2 separate regions of the Homo sapiens genome follow, and region 2 is linked to region 1. Evidence: promoter capture Hi-C in 16 types of primary human blood cells and fetal thymus (Javierre and others, 2016). All regions are on one chromosome and are shown on one strand. The core of a region is centred on a gene start or on the middle of the fragment in contact, and the rest is flanking DNA. Distances in the headings are between cores, read along the strand shown.

What was found. Contacts are between HindIII fragments. The CHiCAGO score rates a contact against its expected background, and 5 or more counts as called.
Region 2: a contact is called between a fragment that was not itself captured here and the fragment with the promoter of S100A13 in region 1, in 1 of 17 cell types (M1 macrophages). The highest score is 5.5, in M1 macrophages.

What each region holds. Positions count from the first base shown.
Region 1 is chr1:153,624,243-153,631,410 of GRCh38, forward strand. It overlaps S100A13 (S100 calcium binding protein A13), which reads right to left and starts at 3,263. Exons shown (of 3, transcript NM_001024211.2): 1 at 3,241-3,263; 2 at 2,078-2,291. The coding sequence starts at 2,230. S100A1 (S100 calcium binding protein A1) reads left to right here and starts at 4,192. Exons shown (of 3, transcript NM_006271.2): 1 at 4,192-4,254; 2 at 6,267-6,420. The coding sequence starts at 6,280. RefSeq lists enhancers at 2,685-3,510, 4,337-5,160. The HindIII fragment of the contact is 11,281 bases long and covers 2,734-7,168 here.
Region 2 is chr1:153,402,239-153,409,406 of GRCh38, forward strand. It overlaps a transcript of S100A8 not described here. Among named protein-coding and RNA genes, the nearest start is that of S100A7A, 11 kb to the right of the region's middle. The HindIII fragment of the contact is 162 bases long and covers 2,537-2,698 here.

The DNA of each region.
Region 1 (7,168 bases), core at 2,013-4,512:
GATGTAAGAAGACAAATCTTTTTGGAAATGAGGAGTTGAGAAAATTGAAAGGCCCAGATGTTGGATGAATTGTCTGTGCGGATGCTGAAGCCACTGAGAATAACAACAGAAGCAGTGATGAGAAGAAAACAGTGAGCCAGGAGCTGAAGAGCTGTAAGGAGCGCAATAAGAAGAATGGCAGGTGGCAGATGATCTTCCAAGGCGCTGGGAAGTCTTAGAAAGAAGAAGAAACTAAAATCTAGAGATAATGGAAAGCAGAGAGGTCACTTCCTCCATTTCCAGGCCCAGAGGAAGTTGAATTTAGGAAAAAAAAAAAAAAAACCACAATCACTGCTTGACAAGGATATAAGGAATGCTGTCCCTTCAGGAGAGAACCTGAAGTTTCCAGTAAAAAAGATGAAAAAGGAAACGTCTGGCTGGGCACAGTGGCTCATGACTGTAATCCCAACACTTTGGAAGGCCAATGCAGGAGGATCACTTGAGGCCTAGAGTTTGAGACCAGCTTGGGAAACACAGAGAGACCACATCTCTACAAGTAACTTAAAAATTAGGCCAGGCGCGGTGGCTCACGCCTGTAATTCCAGCACTTTGAGAGGCCGAGGCAGGTGGATCACCTGAGATCAGGAGTTCGAAACCAGCCTGGCCAACATAGTGAAACCCCGTCTCTACTAAAAATACAAAAATTATCCAGGCATGGTGGCGGTTGCCTGTAATCCCAGCTACTCATGAGGCTGAGGTAAGAGAACCACTTGAACCCAGGAGGCAGAGGTTGCAGTGAGCCAAGATCGCACCATTGCACTCCAGCCTCGGTGACAGAGTGAGACTCTGTCACAAAAAAAGAAAAAATTAGCCAGGCAGTGTGGCATGCGCCTGTGGTCCCAGCTACTTGTGAGGCTGGGGCAGGAGGATTGCCTGAGCCCGGAAGGTCAAGGATGCAATGAGCTGTGATCGCACAGTGGCCTGGGCAACAGAGTGAGAAACCCTGTCTCAAAAAAAAGTCTGAGAAGTTGGAAGTTGTAGGGGATTTTGCAGATGAAAGACCATGAGTTTCAGAGACTCACTGTGTTCAAGGAGTCCATATTCACACACTTCAACGTGCCTGTGGATTTTCAGAAAGGATGTAAAACAAACTGTCAACAGCCAGAATGACCAGGCCTCTTCGAGGCCAGAGTCGATGAAATTTAAGACCTGACTCCAGCCTGTGAGTGCGAGAGAAGGAATGACTCTTACACCCTAGTAAGGGGATGCCCATAGCGGGTAGGGAGTCTTCACAGATGCACCCACAGACCCCCTACACTGAGGTCTATGACTCCATGAATTTGGCTGTGTTTTCATTTTTGATAAGCCCCTTTCCACTGCTAGGCCTCAGTTTCCATATATGTGAAGTGAGGAATGCGGACTGTGTTTTCTCTTGGCCTCCTTCCAGCTCTGACAGTCTGTGAATCTCCTGGAAGCCAGCTCTGGGTCCAGTCCTGTCTTGGGGAAATTAGACCAGAAAGGCACAGAGCATACACAAGAACCCAACAGCATCTTCTGACACAAGACCATACTCCCACTGGCACATAGTATCTTTGCTTACCTAATTATATGCATGGACACACAAACACACACATGTACACACCAGGCAAGAAAACTCACAACCGGGTCAGGCGCAGTGGCTTGCGCCTGTAACCACAGCACTTTGGGAGGCCGAGGCGGGTGGATCACCTGAGGTCAGGAGTTCGAGACCAGCCTGGCCAACCTGGTGAAACCCTGTCTCTACTAAAAATACAGAAATAGGCTCGGCGTGGTGGCACACACCTGTAATCCCAGCTACTCAGGAGGCTGAGGCAGGAGAATCACTTGAACCCCGGAGATGGAGGTTGCAGTGAGCCAAGATCACACCACTGCACTCCGGCCTGGGCAACAGAGTGAGACTTTGTCTCGAAAAAACAAAAGAAAACCTGCAACCATTGACACATGCAGCCACCCACACCCTTTCTTGTGGTCACCTCACCGTACTCGGCACCATCACGTCCTAAACACAGTGTCCCATAATCATCATCTCACAAAATCTCAGTCCCAGACTTCTGCCTACCTTGAGCAGATGGGGCAACTGCTGGGTAACCAGCTCTTTGAACTCGTTGACGCTGAGGCTATCCTTCCGGCCCTCCTGCCTTGCAAAGGTGAAGAAGGTGGTGACCACGGTCTCAATGGACTCCTCTAGCTCTGTCAGTGGTTCTGCTGCCATTAGGACCCTGAGGCCAAAGCTGATGTCCTCAAGGGGCTAGCTGACCTTTGTCAGGGCTGACCTGTGGAAGAGAGAAGGAGCAGAGAGGGAGAGTCAGGGAGCCCCAAGATGCAGGAATGGTTCAGAAGGTCCCTGCCTTGGTGTTATCACATCAGTCTCAGCCTGGAGGGGGCATATGGGGAAAGAGGGAGAGGACAGGGGTTGAGCTTGGGGCAGCAGACCAGGCAACGGCATCTCAGTTTTGGTGGGGGCAGGAGATTCAGCTCCAGAAACCCCCTCTTCTGTAGGTCTCACAATCCGGGATCCTTTTTAAATGTCTGTGGCTTAGGGACCCCTCTGTGGTGATCCCTCGATCTGGAGACCCCTCTACTTGAGAGGAGGTCTTCAGTTGAAGGTCCTTCTTGGAGTCCTTCAAGTCTGGTGGCCCCTCTGTGGCGTGTCTGTCTCAAGAATCCCTTCTTGTCTCACCCAGACTCACAGGTCATAAGGTTGTTTGTCTCCAAAGCTTGTTTATGTTGGGCCCTGGTCTCCGGCCACTCGCATCCGCCCACACACACTCTAACCGCTCCTCCCAGCAGAGAAGCACAGGGTCTGGCAAATGTCCCCTGTGGTCAGAGCTGGCTCCGTCTGAACAGACCCATTTTCTCTGCCCCGCTCCACCCTTACCTCTCCTCAGCGGCAGCAGGGCAGAGTGCTGAACCCAGGACCCCACAGATCCTCCCCGCTCCTGTCTCCCGGTGACAAGGGTCCTGGAACGGGGCGTCTCTGACTCCCTGCTCCAGGACGGGTTTAGTACAGGCACTCACAACCCCCTGGGGTGCGGCGGGTGGGGCTGGAAGAGGCATTCTCTTTTCTGTCCACCCCGTCACACACTCCTGCACGCGCTGTTGCTCGATCATCCAAAGCTCCTTCCTGAATTCCTGTCTGAGCTGGCTCTGGGGGAGGGACCTGGGAGCCCAGGAAGAAAAAATGATCTCCAGCCTCCCTCCAGGGTCAGCCATGAGACTCACCCGGCAAGGAGATGGGGTAGAGTGAGCTGGAGCCTCAGGGCTGAGGTTTATAAGCAGCGGGGAAGGAGGAGAGAGCTGCTTCCAAGCCCGGAGGTGTCAAATTTCCGTGGTCGATTCTGAAGACCAGAGACAGCCCAATCAGGCCGCTTGCCCTGAGCCCTCAGGTCTGGACCCGGGCTCCCTGCCAGCCACACGAGCGCCCCCACTTGGTCAGGGAGAGGAGCTGCCTGGACAGATCTCGTTCGGCAGGGGTCCCAGGGTCCTAGTCCTCTCAATACTGGGGGCTGCTGCCACCATACCCATGTCTAATCAGGAGTGTGTATGCTGAGGGGGGAAGAGGGAGGCAACCAATCAAGGGAGCTCAACACTGAGAGGCCCAATCTGAGACACACACAGAGGCCCCTTGGAATGAGATCCCACAAAGGATGCTACAGACCAAGATCCCTCAGAGAACCCCAGGCTGAGGCCCCACACACAGAGGGGGATCCAGGTTGAGACCCCCAGAGAAGAGTCCTGGATTGAAATCCCTCTGTGGGTTCTCAGACTCCCAAGACTAAGTTTCTCACTGAGGGTCCTCTCAGTGAGGCCCCATGGAGGAGCCACAGACTAAGACCCCCTCAGCAGAATTCCCCCCTTACCGGGCTCAACCAGCACAGCCAGCCACAGGTACTGCAAGGCCCAGCTTGGGGTAAGACATCCAGTGTCCCTCCCAGGACCTCCTTCCCACCTCTTTCCCCTGCACCATCCACTGCTGCCTGGAGAGAAAGGAACGGGGCAAGCAAGGCTGGGAAAGAGACAAGGGCCGCCTGTTCCAGCCCAGGAGACAGAGGGCGCCTCTGTCTGCTCCTGGCCCCTTGCCCCACAGGGTGTTCGTCTGTGAAGGGGTGGAGTCGGTGGGGGGGTCAGCGGGGGAGGGACTGTTGAAGACAGGTCTCCACACACAGCTCCAGCAGCCACATTTGCAACCTTGGCCATCTGTCCAGAACCTGCTCCCACCTCAGGCCCAGGCCAACCGTGAGTACCCTGCCCCACTGGGCTAGTCCCTGGCCTGCCAGCTTCAGGGAGAGGGGTCTTCAGAAGGGCTCCAAGAGGCTGGGGACCATAGCACTGTGGAGCACTGAGGATCTGGGAGGAGTCAGTCAGGGTGAGGGCAGTTTGGGATTTGGGGGAGACAGGGTTTGGAAGGTGGTGATGAGAGACAAATGAACTGAAGGTCGGAGAGAGAGCTGGCAGCTCAGCAAAGGAGGAAGCCAGTGGGGAACCCACCATGAGCTTCCTGACCGCCTGGCCCTCCCACAGGGAGCCCTCAAGTCCCTGCCAAGGCCCCCTCTGTCTCCCAGGTGTTGGGAAGGGTCCCAGCCCTCCCCTGCCTCGCCTCCTGTGGGGTAAGAAGAGAGCAGATACAACAGCTGTTTCTGCCCCCACCTCTCCTGCCAGCCTTAGTCTCTGCCACCCCCACCCTGCCTTGCCAAGAGCTCAGGTCCCGGGGGAGTCTGGGGGTGGCAGGGCAAAGCTCCCATGATATGGGGAAGCAGAGATGTAGGGTGCTGTGCCCCTTCCCAACTCGACCTCCACAGGACCTCCCCTTTCTCCTCCTCCCATTTTTGGCCCAGACCTCTTGACTCCTCTTTCCCCCCATTCTTACCTCTTTGTTTCCCCATCTCCCCTGCCCCCAAGTCCTCTCAGAACTGCCACCACGTAAAATCCCAGGCTGCTTTAGGGCTCCAGGTGACCTCCAGCTGCCCCTCTGGCATGGAGCAGGTAATCAAGCTACCAGCACCCCTCCCTCAAGCACCCCTTATCCCCTCATCAGCCACAGCTTGGGTTCCATCTCCCCCATGTCTCTGTGACAACTGCTTCTCAGGTCCGGAGTTCAGATGACACTCACAAGGGCCCCATTGAAGAACTGGGATGTCATTCGATCAGGGGCCATTGTCCAGCCCCCTAGGCCTGGGGAAGGATGGGGACATCTGATCCGAGACACCTGAGCTGCCCCCTCTGGGGTTGTGGAAGGCCAGACTGTCCCAGGGCCAAGGGAAAGAGGCCCCCCGGCTTGGCAGTCTTCTCTCTCAACAGACCACTCCTTTCTCCTTTCTTCTCCTACTCTCTCCCAGCCCCTTGAACTCAAAGGACCGCATGCTTTCAGCCCTTTCTCTCCCCCAACACACAGCAGCCCCATTCCCCTTGCTCCCACTATCCCCGAATCAACCAGGAGTGAGCAGTTGCAGGGACAACGCCTGCAGGTCTCCTCTCCCACTCCCTGGGAACTCTGGCTCCAAGGAAAAGGCTCAGACATTCCTCTCTCCCCTTCTGCCACCCACCAGATGGAAGGGATAATTTTGCAGAGGCAATGGGAGCATATCCCAAAGAAGCCAAAATGACATGTTCAGGAGAGAACAGAGTTGAAGGACCAAAAGGGGCCCCCAGCTGCTGACAGGAAACTCAGAGTCAGTGAGACCTCCCTCCCCCAGAAGGCGTACGCCACCCACTGGGGCTGCCATCCCCTCTACCAGGCTGACCGAGGGTACCAGACTGACTCCTTGCTAGGGGTGGGCAGCAGAAGGAAGGCTGTAGTGGACACCCCAGCCCACCACCCTCAACAGCAGAGCTTGGCTATGCTAGACAGGCAAGGTCCAGGGTAAAAATAGAGCCAGAGGAAGCATGGCCCAGTCCTGTGACCACCCCTGCCTGCCCCACCCTCCTCAATCCCTGCCTGGGCAGCCACTGCAGACATCTACCACAGGCCTCTGGAGCCAGCCCAGCTCCAACTGCTCTCTCTCCATGCCCCAACCCTGATTCCCTCTGGCTGGGGTACAGACTGAGGGACACAGAGAACAGGCCTGCACTTAGGTCTCTTGGGGTTTCCCTCACATTGTAAAATCTCAGGGAAAGATCAATTGCAGTAGGGCTCTAATCCCACAGCTATTTGAGCTGTCAGCCAGGGCCAGTCCTGAGGGTTCCCCTCACCTAGACCCCAGGTACTCCGGGCCTGGTCCTCAGCTCACTTCCATGATGGGGGTGGGTAGGTGCACTGCTGCAATGGGCTCTGAGCTGGAGACGGCGATGGAGACCCTCATCAACGTGTTCCACGCCCACTCGGGCAAAGAGGGGGACAAGTACAAGCTGAGCAAGAAGGAGCTGAAAGAGCTGCTGCAGACGGAGCTCTCTGGCTTCCTGGATGTGAGCATAGAGTGGTGGAGTGGGAGTGGAGTGGGTGAAGGTTGGGGGAATGGGGTGGACACCCCCTTGCTATCTCCCCACCCCACCTCCAGCTCAGCCTAGCCTCTTTCTTTCCTTTCCCAGGCTTCTCTCCTGGGTTTTTCCAGGCTCCCCTACTCCTCCTGGGTCAAGTCAAAATGCCCTGGTTTATTGATCACCTGTTAAGTGTTAGGCCCTGTGTAGATTCATCAATAATAAGACACACAGACTTAGAAGGGAAAGATTGACACTTAAAAGTAAACCATGAACTCCAGGAAATACACAGAGCCTTAACAGATGTACCAGAAAGGGTTATGAGAGATTATTAACCTGATTGAAGTCAGATGGCTTTCCTGAAGAGGTGGCACTTGAACCATGGATTTCCATTGGAAGATTATCTGGGTAAATGCAGACATTTTAGGAGGAGGTAACTGAATGAACAAAAGCATGGGAGAAAGAAGAATGTGGAGCATGTCAGTAGTTTCATTCAACTGGCATGAAGGATGTAGAAAACTAGGCTGCTAAGGCTAACCAGGGCCCCAAAGTAAAGAAGCCTCAGGATACGGTAGAAAGTGCACCGGTTTTGAGGTTTTATTGGACTGGGTTCAAATTCCAGCCCTGCTACTTTCTAGCTGTGGGACTTTGGGCATATTTATTTAACCACCGATTACCAATTTGTTTCTTCTCTAGAATGGAAATAATGAAACATACCTCACATTATTTGTATTAG
Region 2 (7,168 bases), core at 1,368-3,867, 220 kb before region 1:
TCATCTTCTTAACAATTGCTGAAAAAGCCCAAGGAATGACAATTACAGGAGCATGCTGGGGACACAGCTAGTAATGCAGAGGCACATTTCTAACCCAGGCCCATGGGCCCCACATACCTGTTCTCAACCACTACATTACCTTGTCCCCGAATAACAGGAAATCCAACCTTAGGGAGAGCAGGAGAAGGGCCCCATGGTTAGAGGAAAGAGCTGGAACAGAGGTGCTCAGGTAGGAGCCAGCCTGGGCTGACAGAGGGGCAGAAAGAAGGGCTGGAGTGGTGTAAATGGAGCCCAGAAAGACAGGAGATGAGGTCTGAGGGGCAGGCAGAGGACAAGCCAACGAGGACTTTGCAAAATTTGGACTTTAAGCAGGATGGGAAGCCACTAAAAGTTTTTAGTAAGGGATATGCCATGTTCATAGCAGCTTTACATGCTATTGTAAAGCTGATAGTTCTCCCAAACGTAACCTATAGATTCAGTGCAATCCCAGTCCCAAAGTCCTTGCTGGAATTTTTGTAGAAATTGACAAGTTAACTGTAAAAAGTATATAGACAGGCCAAGAATAGCCAAGGGAATCATGAAAAAGAAAAGACATGGGAGGATCTACAGTACTAGATGTTAAGATTTATCATAACAGCTCCGGTAACTAAGATACTGCCTGGCTGGTTCAAGGACAGTCACATAGATCAACAGAACTAAATAGAGGTCTGAGAAAAAGACACACACGTATGGTATATTTATTCTGTGACAAAAGTGGCACTGCTGAGCACAAGCTTTTCAATACATTTTACTGGATCAACTGGATGCTCATGCTCATGAAACTAGACCACACAAGCAGACAAAATGACAATTCCAAGTGGATTGTAGGTCTAACTGTGGAAAGTAAAGTCATAAAGCCTCAGTAGCATATGCAAAGATATTCAAGACCTCAGTCTTGAAGATTTACTTCTATATTTTCTTCTAAGAGTTTTAGTTTTAGCTCTTATGTGTAGGGCTGTGACCTATTCTGAGTTAATTTGTGTGTATGAAGGAAGGAAGGGGTCCAGCTTCATTATTTTGCATGTGGCTGTCCACTTGTCCCAGCATCATGTGTTGGAAAGACTATTCTTTCTCCATTGAATTGGCTTGGCGGGCTTGTTGAAAATCAATTGACTGTGAATGTGAAGGCTGAGAACACTTTATCATGAACTGTTAGCTTCACCTATGTAAAGATATCTTCTCTCTGCTCTACCTCCTGTCGAAATCTGACACGACTCTTGCTCAAAACAAGCTTTGTTTCCTGAGTTCCGTGGCCTTGTCTCATGTGGAGCAATCATGTCACATTAACCCCCTCCCCACCCCCACTCCACGTCCACCCTGTGGGCCACGGCCCTGCCCTTTCCCAGCTGTTTTATGATCTGCTTTTTCAATTAGGACTATGTTTAAAACATCTCCCCAGTTCTTAAATATTTTTGAGTGATTGATTCCAAATAGCTACATTATATGGAATTCCAGAACCATTCTGACTAACAACACTTTTGACGCCAAATGTGTGGGGGTTATATTTCCTTTTTTTAAAATCCCCACACCAACCAATTCTCCAACACTCTGAACACCATCGGGGTATCGTGCAATTCCGTTCTGATCCTAACTACCAAGAGTTAGCACAGACCCCACAAGGTGAAGGCTCAGCCCCACAACACTGCCCCCACTGCAGATGCCAATCGCAGCACCTGACCGCCCATACTTCTGACTGACTGGCTAAAATTGGAGGTTCCTACAAACCCCCTCCTCAGGTTAGATAATCTGCTACAAGAGTTCACAGGACTCAGGGAGGCACTTTACTCATGATTACTGGTTTATTACAAAGAGTACAACTCAGGAAAAGCCACGTGGAAGAGACACACAGGGCCATGTATGAGGGGCAGCATGGAGCTCCCAGGCCCACTCCAGGAGCCCACCCTTCCGGCACCCCACCTGCTCAGCAGCCCTACAGTTCTCTGAACCCCATCGTTTGGGGTTTCTATGGCAGTCACTTCATTTAGGCATAGTTGATTAAATAATTGGCCACTGGTGATTGAAGTCCTTCCCCAGCCGCTCTGTGGAGGCCCAGTGTGGGGCTGAAAGCTCCAGCCCTCTAATCACATGGTTGCTTCCTCTGGCAACCAGCCCCATCCTGAAGCTATCTAGGGGTCCACCAAGAGTCACCTCATTAGCACACACTCAGCATGACTGGAAGGGGATTGTTATGAATAACAAAAGATGCTCCCTCTCCCCTGTCATTCAGGAGATTCCAAGGATTTCAGACGCTCGGTGTCAGGAACAGGGACAAAGACCAAATGTCCATTTCGTATCATCACAGGGATTCCATGTGTATAGGCATCAAGATTTACTTAACCCACCATTACTAAAAATTTAATTATTTTTATCTCTTCCTGTTTCTACCACTTGATTAACAATTGTGTCCCCAATATACTATTTTATGCAGTGTCCTCTGGTAAGCATTGGAGAGAGAAAAGAATACAAATTAAGTAAGAAAAGCCCTCTGCCTTTCAGAAGCTTTTGGTGAAGATCTCTTTTTTTAACAGGTGCAAGATTGGTGCCCGACGTGGGACTCACAACCTACAGAAGGGCGGGAACCACGAAGGACCCAGCCACGTGGTACTGCCTCCGGCGACAACCAGGGCGAGGTGGGTGCTCGGTGGCGCCACCGTGTGGAAGCTTGGGAAACAGAAAACCAATTCTCTGCACTCAGGGCCAGAGTTTTGTCCTGGGCCTCTGACTGGGGCCAACTGTAACAGGAACAGCCCTTACAGTGTAAGTCAGAATCCTACAGTCCTCCTTGGCCAAGGAGCCTTCCTGGAGTCCCCCCCACCCCGCACTGCTTTCTCCAGCTTGCCAGTTTTACCTACACGGCCCAGCCTCGTCTTAAAATTGGGCGAGATGAGGAATGATCATTGCCAACTTGAAATTTGGTTGAACAGATACATTTCTCAGGGTACGCTTGGGTCACTTCCTAGCACTGTCTGTGTATGCGGCCTCCGAGAAAGCAACCTCCCTTATCAGGCTAACAGAATTGACAGTAAATCCTCCCAGCAAACCCATTCGACAGGATGGTGGGTGTTAGTCCAAACTGCACCATTTTGTAAGCCCCCTGCCATTTTGCGGACCCTGGTCAGAGTGAAACATTCCATGTGGATTCAGGCCGTGAGAAACATCCTGCCTAACCACCTGACCGCAAGGCACAAGAGCATCCTTATCATACCCTGCTGGGCAAAGGCGCAACTGAAGGAACATCCCCATCATATCCTGCGGGGCAAAGGTCCAAGAAACAGCCTATCACATCCCGCTGGAAAAAGGTCCAAACCGCCTGATCACAGGAACATCTTATCAATATCCTCCCGGCGAGCTAGCCATACTGCCCAGACCCCCACCTAGACCTATAAATTACCCCAGCCTGTAAGCGGCAGGGGGCTCTGGCATTAAGCTTGTCCCCCACCTCCTCAGGTCTTGTGCTGGACATAAAACCTGCATTTCCATAGAGCCACCAACTCTCTCTGTGTCTTTTTTTAACCCTTGCCTTCCCTTCAAAACCTAACAGTGGGACCACAGGCTCTGGGCTGCAGCTGGGTGTTCTCATCCTCCAGTGTGGATGGCTCACAGCAGAACTGAGTCCTAATAACCTCTTGTGAATGCTGCAGAACTCTCTCTCTGTCTCTCTGTCCCGCTCCCCCAACTGCTGCACGAGTCCAGAGATGCAGCTGGCCAGCACCACCCAGAAGGACCCCAAACAGAACAGCTGGCTGTCTTGGAACATTCCCGTGGCTCCCTCTGCCCTGTCCCTCTCACCGTGGCTCCTGGAAGTGCTCTATGGCCTATTGAAAGGATGCCCCTACAAAGCTTCCCCTGGTTCCCCCACCTGAAAAGTGATTTCTCCTCTTCCAAATTCCCACACACTTTATCTGAACCTTTTTGAAGACACCTGCCTCACTTGCTAGTTTGGCCAATGTTTATGGAGTTCTCTGCACTGGAGGCTGGGGGCACAATATAAGACATGGCTGGGCGGCAGCAAACATAGCATATGTGTGGCCAGGGCTGTCACTGAGACATGCAGGGACATGGGGATGATGGCTCTGCCTGGAGAAGGCTTCACAGAGAAAGTGACCACTGAACTGCCTGGGGACCTGGGGGCTTCCGGGCTCTGTCCCACTCTACTCTCTCACCACCCAGTGCCTTATATTGGAGTTCTCTCCTGGGGCCAGAGCATTGCTCAAAGCATGGTCCACATCCACTCCATCTCCCTGCCACCCTGACACCTGCACACCCAGAACAGAGTCAGCACTCACAGCATAAATGAATGGATAAAATACAGCAAAAAGAACAAATTGCTTTCTGTCCTCTTCCCCCAGCAACTTGAGATCTTCTAGAGACCCAGGAGTATGTTGCTTCTACTTCAGGCTGGGGAGAGGCGAGCTCCCCAAAACGATAGAGGAGATGAAGATATCAACCAGCCAAATTCCTGTTCACAATCAGCCTGTTGTGAGCTCTCCTGGGGGATCAGCAGTGGCTGGGAGGTTGGATGTGTGATAGGATGGGGTGGGTTTATGGAGAGTGTTTGTTCCAGACATGACACAGGGGAAAGGCTCACAGGGTTCAACCTGATGAGCAGGTGCAAAAGATAAGGCCCCTATTAAAGCTAATTTGCTAAGATTTTGATTTTAGCAAAAACAAATGATCAGTTTTTTGGATGTCTCAAATATGTTTGATATTTTTGGAGAGGTTCCAAGATGGCCGAATAGGAACAGCTCCAGTCTACAGCTCCCAGCGAAGCAGAAGACAGGTGATTTCTGCATTTCCAACTGAGGTACCGGGTTCATCTCACTGGGGCTTGTCAGACAGTGGGAGCAATACAGTGGATGCAGCCCACAGAGCATGAGCTGAAGCAGGGTGAGCATCACCTCACCCAGGAAGCACAAGGGGCCAGGGAATACTTTTCATAGCCAAGGGAAGCCGTGACAGACGGCACCTGGAAAATCAGGTCACTCCCACCCTAATACTGTGCTTTTTCAGTGGTCTTAGCAAACAGCACACCAGGAGATCATATCCCGTGCCTGGCTCGGACAGTCCCACACTCACAGAGCCTCGCTCACTGCTAGCACAGCAGTGTGATATCAAACTGCACGGCGGCAGTGAGGCTGGGGGCAGGGTGCCCGCCATTTCTGAGGCTTGAGTAGGTAAACAAAGCAGCCAGGAAGCGCGAACTGGGTGGAGCCCACCACAGCTAAAGGAGGTCTGCCTGCCTCGGTAGACTCCACCTCTGTGGGCAGGGCATAGCTGAACAAAAGGCAGCAGAAACTTCTGCAGGCTTAAGCGTCCCTGTTTGACAGCTTTGAAGAGAGTAGTGGTTCTCCAAGCACGGAGTTTGAGATCTGAGAACTGACAGACTGCCTCCTCAAGTGGGTCCTTGACCCCCAAGCAGCCTAACTGGGAGGTACCTCCCAGCAGGGGCCAACTGACACCTCATACAGCCAGGTGCCCCTCTGAGACAAAGCTTCCAGAGGAACAATCAGGAACCAACATTTGCCATTCTGCAATATTTGCTGTTCTGCAGCCTCCGCTGGTGACACCCAGGCAAACAGGGTCTGGAGTGGACCTCCAGCAAATTCCAACAGACCTGCAGCTGAGGGTCCTGACTGTTAGAAGGAAAACTAACAAACAGAAAGGACATCCACGCCAAAACTCCATCTGTACGTCACCATCATAAAAGACCAAAGGTAGATAAAACCACAAAGATGGGGAGAAGCCAGAGCAGAAAAGCTGAAAACTCTAAAAATCAGAGCACCTCTTCTCCTCCAAAGGAACGCAGCTCCTCACCAGCAACGGAACAAAGTTGGATGGAGAATGACTTTGACGAGTTGAGAGAAGAAGGCTTCAGATGATCAGTAATAACAAACTTCTCCGAGCTAAAGGAGTTTGTTCAAACCCATCGCAAAGAAGCTAAAAACTTTGAAAAAAAGATTAAATGAATGGCTAACTAGAATAGACAGCATAGAGAAGACCTTAAATGACCTGATGGAGCTGAAAACCATGGCACGAGAACTACATGACTCATGCACAAGCTTCAGTAGCCAATTTGATCAACAGGAAGAAAGGGTAGCAGTGATTGCAGATCAAATGAATGAAATGAAGTGAGAAGAGAAGTTTAGAGAAAAAAGAGTAAAAAGAAATGGACAAAGCCTCCAAGAAATATGGGACTATGTGAAAAGACCAAATCTAAGTCTGCTTGGTGTACATGAAAGTGAGGAGGAGAATGGAACCAAGCTGGAAAACAGTCTGCAGGATATTATCCAGGAGAACTTCCCCAATCTAGCAAGGCAGGCTAACATTCAAATTCAGGAAATACAGAGAGGGCCACAAAGATACTCCTCGAAAAGAGCAACTACAAGACACATAATTGTCAGATTCACCAAAGTTGAAATGAAGGAAAAAATCTTAAGGGCAGCCAGAGAGAAAGCTCAGGGTACCCACAAAGGGAAGCCCATCACACTAACAGAGGATCTCTTGGCAGAAACTCTACAAGCCAGAAGAGAGTCGGGGCCAATATTCAACATTCTTAAAGAAAAGAATTTTCAACCCAGAATTTCATATCCAGCCAAATTAAGCTTCATAAGTGGAGGAGAAATAAAATCCTTTACAGACAAGCAAATGCTGAGAGATTTTGTCACCACCAGGCCTGCCTTACAAGAGCTCCTGAAGGAAGCACTAAACATGGAAAGGAACAACCGTTACCAGCCACTACAAAAACATGCCAAACTGTAAAGACCATTGATGCTAGGAAGAAACTGCATCAACTAACGAGCAAAATAACCAGCTAACATCATAATGACAGGATCAAATTCACACATAACAATATTAACCTTAAATGTAAATGGGCTAAATGCTCCAATTAAAAGACACAGACTGGCAAATTGGATAAAGAGTCAAGACCCATCAGTGTGCTGTATTCAGGAGACCTATCTCAGGTGGAGAGATACACATAGGCTCAAAATAAAGGGATGAAGGAAGACCTACCAAGCAAAAGGAAAGCAAAAAAAAGCAGTGCTTGCAATCCTAGTCTCTGATAAAACAGACTTTAAACCAACAAAGAACAGACGCGACAAAGAAGGCCATTACATAGTGGTAAAGGGGT